2 separate regions of the Homo sapiens genome follow, and region 2 is linked to region 1. The links are contacts of gene promoters, found by promoter capture Hi-C in human tissues and cell types (Jung and others, 2019). All regions are on one chromosome and are shown on one strand. Each heading gives the region's core, a stretch centred on a gene start or on the middle of the fragment in contact. The rest is flanking DNA. Distances are from core to core; before and after follow the strand shown. Region 1 holds the start of GLT8D1 (glycosyltransferase 8 domain containing 1). Region 2 overlaps PBRM1 (polybromo 1).

The links. Contacts are between HindIII fragments. The study calls those that stand out against the background at their distance.
Region 2: a contact is called between a fragment that was not itself captured here and the fragment with the promoter of GLT8D1 in region 1, in 1 of the 25 tissues and cell types used here (mesendoderm cells).

The regions. Positions count from the first base shown.
Region 1 is chr3:52,704,295-52,707,686 of GRCh38, reverse strand. It overlaps GLT8D1 (glycosyltransferase 8 domain containing 1), which reads left to right and starts at 1,896. Exons shown (of 10, transcript NM_018446.4): 1 at 1,896-2,240. It overlaps SPCS1 (signal peptidase complex subunit 1), which reads right to left and starts at 1,581. Exons shown (of 4, transcript NM_014041.5): 1 at 1,405-1,581; 2 at 984-1,043; 3 at 808-894. The coding sequence starts at 1,440. RefSeq lists an enhancer at 1-53 and a silencer at 2,000-2,169. The HindIII fragment of the contact is 20,736 bases long and covers 1-3,392 here.
Region 2 is chr3:52,553,564-52,556,955 of GRCh38, reverse strand. It overlaps PBRM1 (polybromo 1), which reads left to right. Exons shown (of 32, transcript NM_001405607.1): 29 at 2,077-2,232. Among named protein-coding and RNA genes, the nearest start is that of UQCC5, 19 kb to the right of the region's middle. The HindIII fragment of the contact is 6,956 bases long and covers 1-3,392 here.

The sequences.
Region 1 (3,392 bases), core at 647-3,146:
CTGGGCCAGAAAAGAGGAAATGCATAAATTATAGCTATTAAAAGTTTAAAAAATCATTACGTATAATGCCAGGTTCCCAAATGACTCCTATGCTGAGGGAACAAAAAAACAAAAAAAAAAATCCATATTCCTATAAAGGCTCTGTGCCACCATCCATGCAAAATACTGTATGATGATGGGAACAGGCTCACTGCCTATACAAATGGCTTTAAGACCTAAAAGAAAGGTGGGGGCCAGGCGTGGTGGCTCTCGCCTGTAATCCAAGCACTCTGGGAGGCCAAGGTGGGCGGATTGCTTGAGACCAGCCTGGCCAACACAGTGAAGCCCTGTCTTTACTAAAAATACAAAAATTAGCTGGGTGTGGTGGTGGGCTCCTGTAGTCACAGCTACTCGGGAGGCTGAGGCAGGAAAATCTATTAAACCCGGGAGGCAGAAGGTGCAGTGAGCCGAAATCGCCCCAGTGCACTGCAGCCTGGGCAACAAGAGTGAAACTCCGTCTCAAAAAATTTAAATAAATAAATAAATAAAAGGTGAAGGGACAACGTGAGCACCATGAAAACTCCTGCTGGCTTTGACCTTAAGATTATTAGCCAGAGTAGCCGCCAAAGGAAATAAGCTGTGTCCTTTTATATAGTTCGCACCATCTGACACTATTTTGGCATTCTACTTTTCCAATGATAGCAAAGGGAAACGCTGTTTGGAAGGATGAGGGAAACGTTGGCTTTGGGTCTCACTACTGAGTAGGTCTAACCAAACCAACCCGACTCACAAAACCCAAGCTGCCACTAATACCCACAAATTTCTTACCAAACATGAAAAAGCAAATCCGGCCATAACTATATAGACAGTCCACCCGAACTGTTCAGCCACGTACCCGTAGATAAATCCAACTATCTAGAGACAAATGAAGTATATTAAACACACTCAAACTGAGGGTTGGGAGGGAGGCGGGGGCGGAGATTAAATGTAAAACCAATACTTACTGCAGAAAAAAGAATAATTCCCTGAAACATCTGTTCAGCTAGCTTCTGGCCCTTGTAATCCTGGGGTGAAGCAGAGGAAAAAAAGAATTGGTTCCACCGCCGAGAACATACAATTCCTGCCCTGACCTCACAACTCTGGCACAGGGTAACCCCAACATCAGGGTCTCCCGCTCTCCTAAGGGCCTGGGCAAGATATTAAATTCTGGGCTTCCCGGGAGGAACTGAAACACCCTCACGGAGAATGGACAGGAGATTCTCGCGGAGTAGAAGAGAAGGGGACCCAGGAGGCAATTCGGGAAAGAGGGTGGACGGTAACCATCCGGGCCCGGAACAGCGCAGCACCGGGTCGGTGCTCCAACATGGGCTTCGAAGCTGCCAGGCACAAGAACGGCGTGCAGAGGTCCCCGGGTTGCGCCCTCACCATCTGCGTGGGCAGCGAGCTCAGATGCTCCAGCATGGCTGGCTGAGGAGGCGGGCAGCTGAGCGCGGGTGGCAGGCTGCGAGGCGAGGGCGACCGAGACTTAAGGACCGTGAGGGGTAAGGTCTGGCACTGCGCGTCAGTAGCCGGGCCTTCTAAGCCCGGGAGAGCGATGGCGGCGGCCCCGGAAGCGGAAGTCTCCGACGGGCCGGTACAGCCCGTGTCCCCGCCCCGCGCCATCGCTAGGCGACGTGCGCTTTTGCCGCGCCGTGCTGCCCGCGAGGGCAGCTGAGGTGGTGGTGGCGGCCGCCTTGTCGAGGCATCGCGCGCCCGTGAAGTGTTCGCCGTCAGTGCTGTTGGGTGCCTGGAGCCGCGTCCCCCGTCCCGAAAACTGTCCTTGACAGTACTTGCGCGGCCCAACGGCCGCCGGCGCCCCCGCGTCTCCATGGCGACGGCCTTTTTCCCTGCGAGGACCCCGGCGGCAGGGCTGCCCCGCGGCGCCTGCTTGGCGCGACGCTCTAGCGGTTACCGCTGCGGGCTGGCTGGGCGTAGTGGGGCTGCGCGGCTGCCACGGAGCTAGAGGGCAAGTGTGCTCGGCCCAGCGTGCAGGGAACGCGGGCGGCCAGACAACGGGCTGGGCTCCGGGGCCTGCGGCGCGGGCGCTGAGCTGGCAGGGCGGGTCGGGGCGCGGGCTGCATCCGCATCTCCTCCATCGCCTGCAGTAAGGGCGGCCGCGGCGAGCCTTTGAGGGGAACGACTTGTCGGAGCCCTAACCAGGGGTATCTCTGAGCCTGGTGGGATCCCCGGAGCGTCACATCACTTTCCGATCACTTCAAAGTGTAAGGGGGGCCCTACTGACCCTTGGAATTTAGGGGGGCTACCCTAGGCGGCATCCACAACAGAGAGAATTCCCTTGGAGAGGGGACCCTGGTGCTCGGCTGTCCCTCTCATCCGCGTAGAAAGTCCCTCATCTGGGGGCTCCCGAACTCAGCCCTCTCACATTGTGGCCGGCTTTACTGACCCTCACAGACCCAGGCTGGGCCCTCCCGATAGAGGCCAGCCAAAGGTTCACTCAGCCTCTCTTTCAAGGCTGGTGTATCTCTAAATCTTAGACCCTCCTCCGTTACCGTCAGCCAGGTGGGATGCCCACGTTTTGGAGAGAAACCGTTCTGAGGAACCCGGGCCTCTGGGTCCCAGCTGGCTCTCCGGCCCCCAGGTTATGTATTCTGGGTTGGCCACAAACAGTGGAATTCTAGGCACTCCCGGGACAGGGTGGGACTGCTGTCCTCATTCATGCAACCAGCAAATATTCACGGCACCTTGTTTGTGCCAGACAGCAGACCGAGGACACGGTTGTTACCAAGACCAGGCTGTTGCCTTGGAAGAGCCCAGAGCGTGTCAAGGGAGACAGCCACATCACGCCAGAAATACATGACAGCTGGATTAGCCCTGGGAGAGGGAGGCCCAGATGTGGGAGCTCAGGGGAGGTGCAGCTCAACGTGGAGTTTGGAGGAGGCTACCTTGACCTTTGAATGCCAAGTGGGAGCCAGCCAGATGAAAGGGTAGGAGAAAGTGTTTGTATATCCTCAGTGCCCTTTCATCCTTGCACGTGGCAGAGACCAAACAGTAAAATGCAGACACGTTTGACACTTTTCTGACCTCAGAAGGACTCAGGACGTGTAGAAGGCAGAAAGAGGGATGGGCAAGAGTTTATTCCTGTTTCCTTCTCATGCTCTGTATTTCTTGGTGTGTTTGAAGAGACTTTCTGTTGTGTGTATAAATAGATATATCTCTGTGTGGTCTTTTTTTTTTTTTTTTTTTTTTTTTGAGGCGAAGACTCGCTCTGTTGCCCAGGCTGGAGTGCAGTGGTGCGATCGCGGCTCACTGCAACCTCCGCCTCCTGGGTTCAAGGGATTGTCCTGCCTCAGCCTTCTGAGTAGCTGGGATTACAGGCATGCGCCACCACGCCCGGCTAATTTTTGTGATTTTAG
Region 2 (3,392 bases), core at 453-2,952, 150 kb after region 1:
TAAAAACAATTAAAAAAAAAAAAAAAACAGCAGCTGCAGCATTTTAGCTCCCTGTTGGGGAAGAACATTATAGAACTCTATGGATGAGGAAGGTGGTCCCTCTAGAAAGCCCCTGCTCCATTATTTAGGGTGTGCTGGCTAGACTTCTGGGCCCTGGGAGTGAAAAGCAAGCATTCTCTGCAGTAACCACTCTTTGGTCCTCATGGGGAACCCTGCAGCTAAGAGGGTGATTTTTCATGGTTTTACAGGTTTCTTAGGGCCTGAGTCTTACTTATTAGCCTTGTTGCTGTCTTGAGACCAGCTTTGCTTACAAGCATTGAAGCTCATTTGAACACATGTGACTGGGATAATAAATGCCAAAGTACAGTTTAATGAAGACAAGTGTCATGTCTTTCAGTTCTTAATAATTTCCTCAACCACAGCCCATGAAGGCTGCGTTCAGATGGGCTTTTGTAATTGAAAGCAAAGCCTCTTAACATCCTTAAATTTCCCGCCTACTTAACCCTAAATGCTATAACTGGTGGTGTGGTTAAAAGATTGGTAGCATTGGATCTCTTCATGTTTAATTAAGATGATGGTGTCTGTTCAAAAGTAGTTTTTACTTTCTGAACTCTTCATTTAAAAAAAAATGAAAACTCATAATCTTATGTATAGAGAGATTATTATTCAAATTTTTGTCATTCGGTTTATGTAATTGTAAGTTAGTCAGCTTAGGTATGACTAGTGAAGCAGGGTGAATCGACCTCAGAATTTTTAGTAATTTCATAGCCTTAAAAGACTAAACTTTTATAAATAAATATGTTTGAAATCTTCAGGGAAAGTCCAAGAGTAAAATTCTCAGAATCTGAAGTTTTCCACTATTTGACAGAGTCCCTCTGCAAAGAGTATTTTATAAAAATGAGGTTTGGCACCAGTCCCTCAACCCTCCCTTTGCAAGAAGCTGTGACCAAAGGTGACTGCATTTTGGGGGGAGCTTTGTGTTCTTATTCATCATGATCATTACAAATCCCAGAAAAGTCAAGTTGTTTTTCTTGTTTTAAAAAAATGCCATGTGGTTTTAAAGGTCTTTTGATAGGTGAGTCCTTGACATTTTGAATTTTTTTTCTTACATTTATTCCTTCTGCCAAAAATACTTGTTTGCTGAAACTCTTCTCTAGCCAGTAGAAAATATTTTGTCATGTGTAGGTACACTTTGAAAATAAAGGAATAAAAGCCTCTGTTCACAGAAATTGTGTACCTCAAATTAAAATGCTCCCTGTTAAGGTTTATATGAGGACATTTGAGCTTGGAGACTGATGGCATTTGGCATTTTCTCATATCAGCAGAGCCCAATTCTCCAGCCATTCCTCCGTAAAGTCTGTGTGTAGGCTCCTGAGTGACCTGGACTTGGTTGGCTTGGTTGGGAGTGTTTAGGTTTTATCTTTATCACATTTTTAGATCTAAAGAAGGAAATATCATTCACTGTGATGGTTCTTAGAAGCTGTTCCCCAACTCAAGCCCAAGCACAATCCATTCTTACCAGCAGTGGTAAGGCTAGAAAGGAGGAGTAGATGTAGAAGTCTTGAACAATTCCTGCCCCAAAGCTGGAGAACCATGCTTTGTGATCAGGACTATGCGCTCATTTCCCTCCCTTCCTATTTCCCCTCATGTGTACCCATGATAGGCATATGAGTGTGGGCAGAGTGGAATGATGGGGTTTATACTATTCAGTTAGAATTGCAGTCAGCAGAACTGGTCACTCTGTTTGAACAGCTTGCAATAATTATTTCCTTGGGAAGGCTGTTACTAGAACTCTTTACTATTATTTAACTGAAAACATGCAGCATATTTACCCCAGGGAAAATAACTACAAATAATAGTGTACTAAGTACTAATTCATCCCAAAATGTTGGGTCTCATATTTGTAACTTTTTATTTTGTTCATTATTGCAGCAAAATAATTGCACTAATTGCTGTTATATCATGCAGTACTAAGGGTGCTTTATTCATTGGTAGTGCATGTGGGGGTTGGTTGTTATTACTTAGCTCATGTTGCATGTTAATGATGCATGTCTGAAATTTGTTGTGTCCTTCAAGGCATGATGGGTGGCTATCCGCCAGGCCTTCCACCTTTGCAGGGCCCAGTTGATGGCCTTGTTAGCATGGGCAGCATGCAGCCACTTCACCCTGGGGGGCCTCCACCCCACCATCTTCCGCCAGGTGTGCCTGGCCTCCCGGGCATCCCACCACCGGGTAAGAACTTCATCCTCATTCACTCATTAATCTCATCTTCATATTCTCTTTTTCCGCTTTCAACCAGTTGTTCCAGGAGGCACCCGTGGCCCATTGTGGCCAGGCCTTCCCTCCCTGAGAATCCAAAGGTTGTCAGCAGCAGGGCATGTCTTGTGCATTCAGCAGGTGGCCCAGCACTTGTGCCCTTGTGCACCTGGCTGCTGGCAGCAGCACAGCACACATGGCAGAGGCCAGACTCAGCAAACCAAGGGACAAGAGGCATACTCTATCGATAATCACTCAACTAATTTGACATGTCCTTGAAAAGCCAGACAGCCTAGAAGGCTGTGTCCTCTTATCAGTGAATGAAGTTTCCCAAATTGCTAGTTCAGAGTAACATGTAAAAGCATTTTTTGCCCCTGAGTTGCATTTCTCCCTCTGGTGCAATTCTTATCTCACAGGGTATAGAGTATCTGTTCCATCTCCTACTTCTCCTCAAGCAGCCTTTCTAAGGGGATTGCAGAGCTGCTAAGGTAGAACTCTTCAGAAATCTTTCACTCAGTCTGTCTTAGAACAAAAAGCAGGGAGGGAATGCATTTTCACTGAATTAGTGTTCTGTATGTGAGTTCCCTAAGAAGCATGACATGCCAGGTGTAATGGCTCATGCCTGTAATCCCAGCACTTTCAGAGAATGAGGAAGGTGGATCACTTGAGCCCAGGAGTTCAAGACCAGCCTGGGCAACCTGGTGAGACCCCATCTCTATAAAAATTAGCCAGGTGTTAGGCCGGGCACGATGGCTCATGCCTGTAATCCCAGCACTTTGGGAGGCCGAGGTGGGCGGATCACTTGAGGTCAGGAGTTCGAGACCAGCCTGGCCAATATGGTGAAACACCGTCTTTACTAAAAATACAAAAATTAGCTGGGCGTGGTGGCGGGCACCTGTAGTCCCAGCTACTCGAGAGGCTGAGGCAGAAGAATCACTTGAACCTGGGAGGCAGAGGTTGCAGTGAGCCGAGATTGCACCACTACACTCCAGCCTGGGCGACAGCAAGACTCCGTGTCAAAAAAAAAAAAAAAAAAGGAAAAATTAGCCAGGTGTGGTGGCATGTGCCTGTAGTCCCAGCTACTCAGGAGGCTGAGGTGGGAGAATTACCTGAGCCTGGGGAGACTGAGGCTGCAG